Linked DNA regions of Homo sapiens: region 1 is linked to region 2. The links are contacts of gene promoters, found by promoter capture Hi-C in blood cells and fetal thymus (Javierre and others, 2016). All regions are on one chromosome and are shown on one strand. The core of a region is centred on a gene start or on the middle of the fragment in contact, and the rest is flanking DNA. Distances in the headings are between cores, read along the strand shown.

Evidence for each region. Contacts are between HindIII fragments. The CHiCAGO score rates a contact against its expected background, and 5 or more counts as called.
Region 1: a contact is called between the fragment with the promoter of ITM2B here and the fragment with the promoter of SUGT1 in region 2, in 1 of 17 cell types (fetal thymus). The highest score is 6.3, in fetal thymus.

What each region holds. Positions count from the first base shown.
Region 1 is chr13:48,231,051-48,236,933 of GRCh38, forward strand. It overlaps ITM2B (integral membrane protein 2B), which reads left to right and starts at 2,156. Exons shown (of 6, transcript NM_021999.5): 1 at 2,156-2,427. The coding sequence starts at 2,311. RefSeq lists silencers at 2,032-2,391, 2,402-2,611 and enhancers at 2,667-3,364, 4,469-5,056. The HindIII fragment of the contact is 15,181 bases long and covers 1-5,762 here.
Region 2 is chr13:52,649,135-52,655,075 of GRCh38, forward strand. It overlaps SUGT1 (SGT1 assembly cochaperone of MIS12 kinetochore complex), which reads left to right and starts at 3,702. Exons shown (of 13, transcript NM_006704.5): 1 at 3,702-3,824; 2 at 3,912-3,969. The coding sequence starts at 3,787. SUGT1-DT (SUGT1 divergent transcript) reads right to left here and starts at 3,173. Exons shown (of 1, transcript NR_170300.1): 1 at 2,171-3,173. RefSeq lists enhancers at 3,003-3,342, 3,452-3,953, 4,063-4,182 and a silencer at 3,433-3,702. The HindIII fragment of the contact is 4,517 bases long and covers 1,234-5,750 here.

The DNA of each region.
Region 1 (5,883 bases), core at 906-3,405, 4.4 Mb before region 2:
ACATGGTTGCTGGTGATATGCAGAGCTGGAATCAGATTCATCTTGCTCTCTCAAACTCAACGTCAAAAAGGAAAACAAAGGTCCTCTAAGACTCCCTTTACATTTGGTAGTTAATAGTAACTTATAACTATGTTTTTAACTTTCTTTTGTTGAGTCATGGACTCTCCTCCTCCCTGGCTCCTAAGTTTTCAGGGTCAACGGGCAACCTTTTCTAAATCACAAGACTGGATTTGCTATGTTTGGTCTTGCTCCAGCGTCTTTATTATCCCTGCTGTTGTGCACTACACAGTTCTGTAGACACATGAGATAAAATGGAGAAAAAAAACCAGGAGATTATTCCCAGACCGGTTGCCAACTGATTTTAAACTGTTGCTCACTGCAAGTACACAAAATAATGAATGGTCTTTTATTCATGAGTCTTTCAAAATAGAAATCCTGGGGCGGGGAGGATTTCTAGTTTTGTCAACCTCATTTGTTCATCCTTTGCCTCAGCTTCCTAGTCTGTTCAGTAGTGTTGTTCACGAAGAATTTTGTTTTATTTTCTTCTGTAATTCCTTTTTTCCCCCCGGAGTATAATGACAGCCAGATTCTTCTCTATCATCTACTGCAAAATGCCTTGAGTATTTTTCTACCATCTTATTTTAACACAGAACGAAGTAGGAAGGATGTACATATAATTATTTATAATCCTCCAGATCTTGCTTCCAGAAATACTTAGTCTTCAACTGTAATGTCTCAGGGAACCTATTAAACTAGGGAGCTGGAAGCAGTCGTTGACTTTGAGGAATTAGATAACATTAGATACTATGAAAGTCCAGTCCATAGAGTCAACCTCACAGAGCCGATGCCTGCACAAGGGCGACCCAGGAGTTTAAATAAGTTGCTGCAAGTATGGTTAGCTACTGTTAAAACTCACCAGAACTGGAACCTAACTCATCCTCCTCTTGGTTGAGCAGATTTCATTTTGACAGGAATTTCTGAATACCCAAAGCAAACTCAAAGTCTGGCCTGGGTTTCTATCTCAGCCCAGGATGCTTCTGAAATACATGAACAGAAGGATTTGGAGATCTTGGGCTGTTTCCCTGGGACTTATGATCTGACATTCTATGGAAATACCCAACTCCCTCCTTGAGCAGGGCCAAATCCCCAAAGATCTCAGACTGAACCCACTTTTTTCAGGGTTGGCCCAAGGCAGAGCTGACACAGCTGTAACATTCTAGAGCACACCCACAACTCTGGATGAACCAGGACAGAATGGGGTGGAAGGATACAAGATAACACATTTGTCCAAGGGGGCCGTCTGTTGACACAGTAATGAACGCAGTAACGACGGGAGCCAGTATTCTACCTCGCATTAGTTGTAAATGAAACGTCTTCAAAACATGAGAATTTTGCGTTATCCTTAATTATTTTTTCATTTTGCAGAAAAATAAAGGGACTCGTCATCGAGTACTTTGAGTCACAAATCAGCCAAGTGTGCATGTGGTTTTTTTCCAAGTACGCACAAGAGTGGAACATTTCGTTTTACGAGTGTGAGATGTTTGAAATACAAATCTGCCAAGAGCTTCCTCCACATTGGTCTGGGACTAGGCAGAACAGGCCCTGACCTCCTGAGAGAGGGAAGGAAGACCAGGCAGGTCTGAGCCAGGTAAACGCCCTTGGGTGAGGTCCGTGAAAGATAAAGTCAGATCTCAAGGACAGAGAGCTTTAAACATGTTTGTGCTCCACTGAGTCGGTTACCTAATAAGTGAGAAAATGAAGATGTGGATGCACAAAAATTCCATGGCCTTTAGGCTCGCGGTGGGGACAGGGTACAGGGAAGCGGCGGTCTGGTGCTGCCAAAGGTTAGTCCCTTGTACCCGGCGAACTCAGGAAAGTTCACTCGATTTCGCTACAAACCTGCAGCACTCGGCCTGGAGGTAACCTGGTTGGGAGCGAATTCAGAACTGGAAATTCCAGGCGGCCCAGAGGGACACCCATCCCTCTCCGAGGCGCGCCGGGATCCGGCGCCCAGCTGCGGGGCGAGGGCAGGGTCCCGCGCAGCACCCCACCCCCGGCCGCTGGCCCCGCCCCCGCCCCCGCCCCGCCTCCCAGGGGATGTGCGAGCAGTCTCCGCCCTCGCGCGGGAGCTGGGAGGCTGCGAGATCCCTACCGCAGTAGCCGCCTCTGCCGCCGCGGAGCTTCCCGAACCTCTTCAGCCGCCCGGAGCCGCTCCCGGAGCCCGGCCGTAGAGGCTGCAATCGCAGCCGGGAGCCCGCAGCCCGCGCCCCGAGCCCGCCGCCGCCCTTCGAGGGCGCCCCAGGCCGCGCCATGGTGAAGGTGACGTTCAACTCCGCTCTGGCCCAGAAGGAGGCCAAGAAGGACGAGCCCAAGAGCGGCGAGGAGGCGCTCATCATCCCCCCCGACGCCGTCGCGGTGGACTGCAAGGTCCGAGCCCGGGGAGGTCGAGGAAGCGGGTGCTGGGCCCGGCCGGGGAGGGCTGCGCGGACTGCAGCGGCAGTGCGCCCCGAGGTGGCGGGCGCGGGGCTCGCGCCGCGGGGACAAGTCCCCGAGAGAGCCCGGCGCTCCCGTTTCCTGTGGGTCCGCAGCTCCTTTGTAAGGAAGTGCGTGTGCTGGAAGCGGTGCCTGACGCGGGGTCGGGGGCTTGGGAGGCCTGGAGAGGGAACGATTGGCTAATTGTGCCGAATTCCCGGTCGTTTGTGCAGTCCGGGGAGCGTGCGTGCAGCCAGGACTTGGCTTGTTCGATCTGGGGACCGGCAGCGACAGGCACAACAACAACAACCGAGTTTGGCACTTCCTTCCCAGTATAAATAATGTACCTAAAATGGCTGACATCATTACAAGCCTAAACCTCTGTTGTTTCCCACTTTCGTTTCTAGGCTTGAACAGCACTTGGACTAAGTCCAGCAACTGTAAGCGTCTTAATTTTAAAAGCGTTTCTTTACCTCCTTTTTCCACGGCCCTTCGGTAGTGGCAGGTGAACTTCACCTGGAGAGGGGACGAAGGGACAGTCCGCCCGAAGTAGGTTTGGGCTGTCTCTTACCATTACTAGTAAAGGCCAGTAATGACTATGTGGATGTTAGTGAAAAACCAATTGTTGGCATTTAAATTGTATCAGCGTCTTTGTGAGGACTCCTGCTGCGTGAAACTAAACATGAGAAATTTGCCCCCGGGTCCCTAATAAAATTCTCCTTTATTTTACAAAATCTCCCTTTAATCCTAGGAAAATTCATGAAGTGGGGCTGTTACTGTGTTGACTTTTAGTAGGTTACGATCATATTTACTTAAATATGAGTGTAATTGTCTCATAAGTTAAAAAAGCCCACAGCCTCTTACCCAGACCCTTTTTAGGCTGCAAAAATTAGAAATTAACTGTAAAGTTATGTTGCTTATCTTATTTTTTGTTGTTGTTAGCATTTTTCAAGACCTATTATCAGTAGGGTAAATTTAGTTTTAACTTAAAAAAATTGGTGTGCCACGTATGAATAATGGGAGTTTTTATATGGACGAATGAAAATTATTGCTGAAAAACAGGCCACTAATATACTGTAAAAAATTCACAATATAATGGTAATCTAGACATCATATTATAATTTATTATATTCTGAATATAATCTATCTTCAGAATATAATGGTAATCTTACTTTCTGGAAATGTTCTGATAAAAACAGACACGTCAGAGGTTGATTTCTAAATGACTTGCCTTGCCTTGAAATAGGAACAGTGAACTGATTCCCTAAAAGGATTAAAGGTTTTGGTTTTCGTATTGGTATTGTTTTCCTGAAGCCATTGCAAACAATCTTGGTCTTTAAAGAAAATGTTTGGAATGCACAGATGAAAATTGCAGTAGCAAATTATTATGTTAGCTCTTTGTTTATCTAACATTCGTTGTACCTAAAATAGATTGAGAGTCAAGTATCCAGTCACAACAGTCTCAAATATATGTAGTCTTAATGCTATCACATATATATATATACACACATACATTTAAAAATCCTATTAACAAATATAACTGCTCCCATTTAGAAAGGAGAGAGTGAGCGAGCATTGGATGATGTCACTTCAGACAGCTTTTCTCTGTTCCGCTGTAGTGGAGATTTGAAACTCTGGACAAACATCAGAATTACATTTGCTGAGCACCATTAAATCTGACTTCTGACAATTTTTGTCATTTCTGAAATAGTGACTCTGCCAGATTCTCAAAATTGCTCACGAGTTCACCATATTTAAATTTTGTGGTCATTGCAGCTATAAGTAATCATTGGTAGCTCCGTGCTTTGTTTTCCATTTTTTATTTTCTCAGATCCTCCATATCCAAAGAAAAATACTACTGGGACTAAAGAGTGAGGGCCAGAGTCGTCTTTGTAAACCACCCAGCAGTCACGGATGAGTTGGTAGATAAAAAATGACTAATTCTTTTTCCAGCTATAAGCTGAAAGACTTCTTTAGGGGATGACAAAATATTTCTCTACATTAAAAGTAGAATCCTTATAATCAGTCAGTCGCTTAACGGGAAAAGGAAAACCTTAATGACAGACTTTTGTGAAAGAAGTTCTGATCTCTTCATTTCAGAGCTTGGGCAGTGATTACATAATGTTCTCTGGCTCCTTGCGGGTGGCTCTGTGGCAGCCACCTTGTCTGACTGCCTGGACTGGGAACAGAATCAGCCTTAATGTGTTTTGCCGAGGGCATTTCCTTTGCCTGGTTGGTTGAAAGAATCAAACCAAGCTAGTTAATGGCCTAGAACTCCTGAACAAGAATTTTTCTTATCTTTAACCCTCCCAGATCACAATATCCCGCAGACCATTGTTTTCCAAAATGTGCTCTTAGGGACCACCTGCTCTGGTTTTAAAATGCAGATTCTGTTACCTTATGCCACAAGAATTCTGATCACTCTAATCAGCTGGCTTATATAACATGCATTCCAGTACTTTTACATTGCTCCTGTCTTTCTATTTTTTTCTTCTGCAGGGTGAGAACTCTCCAGAAACAGTTCTATTACCCCATTTTTCAGTCTTATCTTTTCAGCAGCTATTAATCCTAACAGCCATTTCTATTGATAGTTTTATCTCAACTAGCTTGCTGTTTATTCTTTTCCTGCATTTTCCCCTTAATTGTTTTCACCTTCCTCCTCTCCTAGTAGGCATAAAGCTCTTAGAGCTATAGAGACAGCAAAGATGGGATGTATTTTGGGTAGCAGAAGTGAATTTGAAATTATATACATGTTTTATGCTATAGGCAACAATTCATATATTTTTGTGGCAATACTTTGAACCTTGGGAAATTGTTTTATATTTGCAGATAACAAAATACTTGATGTACTGTATCAGAAGTCCCAGTTTTGTCATTACATAACTACTTGATCTTGGGCTTAAATTTTTAGGTTTTCTGTCTGTAAGATGAGAGGGTAGGACCAGATGGCCTGTAAGGATTCTTCCAGTTTCAAAAATCTATGAAGATGCTAGGATTACATAATTATATTTGGCAGACATTAAATTGTTTTAATTGTGAAAAATAGCAACTACCTCCTCACTCTAACCAGACTATTCCCTTTCTTCCTTTTGGTGTTTAACATGTTACATTCTTCCCTCATATCAAGTAGCAGTGGGTCAAAGAGAAAGGAGATGGGTAGAGGTATTATGTAATAAAGCACATTGTCACTTCTGTTTACCTCACAGTGAACAGTGAAGTTGTCAGCACCTCTTTGTTGCAATGCCTGCTTATGAAACCCCTTTTCCAGTATCAGGCCACAGAATAGCTTAAGCTTGCTTCATATGTATCCCTGCAAGTTGTTTTGCTGACAAATAGTGTTGCTTTCTCTCTACCCCACTTTGTAGATATTCTTTAAAAGGAGAGAGAAAAGTAAAGTGCTGATATAGGAGA
Region 2 (5,941 bases), core at 2,452-4,951:
GGCTGAAAACATTTATTAATAACTTCTTAAGCATTTGTCTGTCCTTCCTCCCAAGATTTCAATAAACTGATGCCAAGAATTTATGGAGAAAATTATAAAAACTTTACTAAAAGACATACGAATAACTGAATGAAACAAGCAATTATGTTCATGGACTGGAAGAGGCAATACAAGGGAAATATATCATTTCTCCTCAAACGAATCTGCAAAATCAAAGTGAACAATTTGTTGTTGTTGTTGAGACTCACACTGTTACGTAGGCTGGAGTGCAGTAACACGATAAGAGTCTCAACCTCCTGGGCTCAAGCGATCCTCCTGCCTCAGCCTCCCAAGTAGCTGAGGCACGCGCCACCATGCTTGGCTAATGTTTTTTATTTATTTATTTTTTGTAGAGACGAGGTCTCACCATCTTGCCCAGGCTGGTCTTGAACTCCTGGGCTCAAGTGATTTTTCTGCCTTGGCTTCCCAAAGTGTTGGGATTACAGGCGTGAGCCACTGCACCCAGCCTGCACAAATCTTGTGCATAACTTGATAAAATTTTATGTTTGAATACACTGCTGTGATTACCAGCCAGATCAAGATATGTAACATTTCCCGCATCCGAGATTTCTTCATGCTCCTGTTCCCCACCCTCCCTGACAACCAGGAGGTTCCCTTATGATACCTCTCATCTAAGTGGAATCAATCATGATGTACTCCGTCTGGCTTTTTTTTTTTTTTACCACAACTTATGTATATAAGCTTCATCCATATCGTTGTGTGTAGTAGTCGTTCATTCCTATTGCTATGTAATATTTTTTTCTCCTATTTAAGGACATTTAGATTATTTCCAGTTTTTGCTACCTTGGGTAATGCTGCAATGAATATTCTTCTACATGATCATAAATAATAAATACTCTTGGGTATATGCCCAGTGGTAGAATTATTGGGTTATGGTCTGTGTATAACTAGCTTTAGTAGATAGTGTCTGATATAGTTTGGATATGTGTCCCCACCCAAATCACATGTCAAATTGCAATCCCCAATGTCGGAGGTGGGGCCTGGTGGGAGGTAACTGGATCATAGGGGTGGGTTTCTCATGAATGGTTAAGTACCACCTCTCTTGGTACTGTCCTTGCAACAGTGAATTCTTGTGAGATCTGGTTGTTTAAAAATGTGTAGCACCTACCCCCACCCTACTTGCTCCTGCCATGTAAGATGGCTGCTCTACCTTTGCCTTGTGCGGTGATTGGAAGCTTCCTGAGGCCTCTGCAAAAGTAGAAACTGCTATGCTTCTCGTACAGTCTGCAAAACCATGAGTGAATTAAACATTTTTTCTTTATAAATTACCTAGTCTCATTTATAGCAATGCAAGAACAGACATACGGTACCACAGTTTTCCAAAATGATTAAACTCTCACCAACAATATATGAAAGATACAGTTGCTACATATCCTTGTCAGTGCTTGGTATTGGAAGTCCTTTTAATTTAAGCCATTCTGGTGGTAGTTTTGGTATCTCATTGATTTCAATGTCCATAATATATAGAACTTCTTTTCATGTTGGGCCCATAGGGCGGTCTTGGAATTCACCCTTTCAGAGGCCATACATATATGTGTATTGGTGCATGGCAGAGGCTGGTGTACACACATTAGTGTATGGCTGAGCCATAACCGGAGCATACCTGAGACTAACCCTATGGTCTAAGAAGAACTTACGTTTGGAGTCCTGGGCTAAGGAATCCAGGAGCAGCCAACCCAGAGATTCACTCCTTATCTATGAAGGACATCCACATCCCTGGCCCGTATCTTACGCTGTACAGATCAAGGCCCTTTGGGGTTAAATGGAGGTTGCTAGAAGGAGAGTGCTAAGTGAAAATGCTATATAGACTACGTGCTTTTTACAAATGGTAGCAGTTCTCCAGGTCAGCCCTCCACCACCGGACCACCCTTGTATGTAAATCCTGAATAAACCTTGTCTCCTTCACTGACTCTGCCTCTCTTCTTACAGTGCCATCCCAACTGGAGTCAGTGGGGTCCAGAAGGACAATTGGCCATTTAGATAACATTTGAAAACTAACCAAGGTAATTCACAGTAACATTAAAAAATACAAATGAACATTTCAATAAAGGCAGAAAAAGCAGTTGATATTCAATGCTTTCCTCCTGATGTTATGACCAAGACAAGGAAGTCCATTATCACTGTTTTTATTCAATAGTGGAAACACTAGCCAGCAACAAAAGGCAAAAATAAATAAAAATAAAAGGTATAAAGGTTACAGAGAAGTTAAACCATCTTTATTCGTGGATTGCAAGATTTTGATCACAGAAATTCCGAAAGAATCTACAGAGTATTACAAATAACAAGGGAACTTAGCAAGATGCTTGCATATAAGGTCAGTATGTTAAAATCAATATTGTTTATTCTTACGAGTAGAATATAAAAAAGTCAAAATGCCATTTAACATTGTATACAAAACACTAAATACTCAAGAATAAATCTAATGAAAGATATATATGATCTCTATACTGCAATCTATCCAAGCACAGCTGCATTAAAATATAGATATATGTGCAATCTACAAAATATTGCCAGGAGAAATTAAAGACCGCTTAAATAAATGGTGGGGGAAGAATGATATTCATGGATTGAAGGACTTGTTGTTAAGATACTAGTTTTCCCAAACAGATCTATAGATTCAATGCGAGCCCAATAAAAAATCCCCCCCCTTTTTAACAAGCTAATTCCAAAATTCACCTAGAAATACAAAGGCCGTAGAATAAGCCAAAACAATCTTGGGAGAATAAGTTACAGGACTTAAAGATTTATTATAAAACTACATTAAATTAACATAGTTTGGTACTGGTATAAAGTTAGACAAAGACTACTCCCTCCCGCTCCTCAATCTGCCCCCATCCCTAGAACGTGCTGGCAGCTTTCTCCATCCGATCTGCAAGGGTTAAAGGGCGCTGAGGAAGGGCTGACCGACTGGGGTGGGAAACAAAGCGGCACTGAGATAACTTCAGGCCACCTTCCTCCCCTCAGTACCTTCGGATGAAAGGTTTCCCTTCTTGGTCTGGGAAGCCCACTAAGAAGAAAGCCTGGGCTGTGGCGTTCTGGGGAAGTGAATAGTACGGCCGCCGGGCGCGTCGCCCCAGGAACCAGAAGGCTTTTTGCCGCTATTAGTGCAGAATGACTTCCGGCAAGTCCCAGTCGTTTAGAATCCCCAGCCCAAAGATCGCGGGGATCCACGCGTCATCCGGGCCTCTGCTCCCGGAAGAGACCACGCAGCCGCTAAAGACGTAATGGAGGCGAAAGGGCTTGGCTAGCTGTGGCAGCCATGATAAAAACTAGGGAAAATGGGAGCTCGAAGTAGCTTCCGTTATTAACAGACATACAAACGCCCCTAACCGCCACACGTTCCTTAGGGATGACAGTACGTTACAAAAGTGCTTCTAAAGTACTACTGAAAGCTCCGTGGGAGTGCCCGCTGGCGTGGGCGCGGTGGAAGGGAGGAAGAACGTGTACGCCCCAGGCCTCCGTAACCATGGCTGCGAGGGGCGGGGACTGGGAGCGCGGGTCCTGGGCCGGGGTGCGGCTGGGAGGAATCGGTCCTCCACTGTCCCAGCCGGCCCCGCGCCGGCGTGTCGCCTCCCGTCCCCCTAGCAGCACGCTGCGTGGCTGCTCGCTGGCTATTTAGGACGGAAGCTCGGTTGGTGTTTCTCCAGAAGTTTCCCCCTTGGGCGGTGGTGGAGGTGGTAACCGTGATAGTAGCAGCTCCGGCGGCAGCAACAGCGACTACGAGGGATGGCGGCGGCTGCAGCAGGAACTGCAACATCCCAGAGGTGCATGTTTTTCTTTCCCTTTGGTATTTATTTTATCCCCCTTTCCTTGGCTAGTGAGCCCTGCTGAAGTCGTTGTTTTCCTGACAGGTTTTTCCAGAGCTTCTCGGATGCCCTAATCGACGAGGACCCCCAGGCGGCGTTAGAGGTGAGAGAGCCCATTTCTGCTTCCTCCACTCTTCTTAGGGGAGCTGGGCCACTTCGGGTCCCCGCTGACCCGCCTTCTCCCCGCACCGCCGGACAGGGACCCAGGCTCTTGTTGATGCTGCGTCTCAGCTCCGGTATTGAGATTCTCCGTCTCTTTTCTCTGTTACACGGTAGCCGCGTTACCCCAGACTCCTGTCTTGCCCTTTCCACTCCCTACAGCTCCTGAGAAAAACCTCCTCTATTTCTTGGGAGCATGGTTGGCATTTGTAGTTTGGCTGAAAGGATTTTTTTTTTAATGACATTTATGATTAGAGAAGTGGACTCTGGGCTCGATGAAGTTAATTTTTTCGTTTGACAATAATTCTTGCCATTCTTACGTAAAAGTGTCGGTATGAAGTCAGTCTACTGGAGCAAAACCCTTTTCCCTCACGTCCCTGAAACTTTCCAGATGTCTTATCACAATTCATTATTCACTCATTTGTATATTCATCAAAATTTTTTTTTGGAGTGGCTGTGTGCAAAGGCGCTGATTGCTGTGGGTTAAAGTCTTGGTTATATACTCAGCTAACCTAGAAATCACTTTTTGTAGGTGTGCAATGAAGGCAAACCATAAAGCTGTAAAGGAATGTAAAAGATCAAGAGTTAAATAATAAGAATTAAAGGAGAACCTAAAGATAAATGATGCTGCGGGTCACAGAATTTAGCCAGGAGTTTTTGTTTGTTTTTGCGTTAAATCACAGAAAAGAGGAAACCTGTTTTGCTGTTACGTTTAACAATTTGAGGCAAGACAGCGTCTTTTCTAGCTATGACTTTTATAAGAAATGTGCCACATGGTACTAGAGCCTCCGTTGAGGAGATCTTTGAGTGGAGATTTGAAGGAACAAGGGAATTAACTTGGAAGCTCTGGGGAAAGAATATTCCAGGCAGGACCAAGAGCCAGTGCAGATCTTGAGGTAGGAATGAAGTTGGCCTGTATGTGAAGCAACAAAAAGGCCCTTTTTATTAGAGGGCCCATTTGATTAAGAGAGGTTGGACAGGAAACTAGGAGCCAGGTCCTATAAGGCCTTTTAGGGTCCAGGTGTGTTTTTTACACCTAAATATATAGACCTTTAGATACTGGGAGTAAGGCTTCTGGGATGAGTTTGGGGATAATGTTACAGGAAGCACTGAGAATTTTTCTCCATAATTTCTTGTATTAGCTAGACAGCTATGACTTTTAATTTACATTTGTTATTGTCGTGTTAGACCTAGTGCTTCCTTTGGGAATCCAGTTTATATAAAAGTTGCTTTTAAACAGTATTAACATAATGAATTTTATTGTCACTTTCCATCTTCTTTTACTTTAAAAATTTTTATGGAGGCATATATGATTTATGTAAATAACACAGATTTTAAGTCTATAGTTTGATGAGTTTTCACATGTTTACACCACCAGATTAAGATACAGAGTATCTCCATTCATAATGCTCCTTAATGCGCCTTCTCAGCCAGTAATTCTTCTTACTGTCCTGCTGACTCCTGCTTTGACCTCCATCACCATCAGTTAGTTTTGTTTGTTCTTGACTCATAAACAGAATCATACAGTAGGTGCTTTATTGAATGTAGACACTCTTTTTGCTTTAATGATTACATAAGTATACATTCATATTGTGTGAAGTAGTAGTTCTTTCGCATTGCTGTGTAATATTCCATTGTATAAATATATGTTGTATAGCCGTAAGTACGGCGCAATTTATTCTAACAGTGGACATCTGGGTTATTTCTAGTTATTAGCTAACAAAAAGCTTCTGTGAATACTCTTGTACATGTATTTTGGTGAACACATGCATTTCTTTTGGTTGTATGTACCTAGGAGAAGAATTGCCTAGGATAGTCATGTGGCTAGTATTAGTACCTTGGTTTTTAATGTATGGCTCTTGGACCAGCATTATCAGCATCACCTGGCAATTCATTAGAAGTGCAGCCGGGCGCGG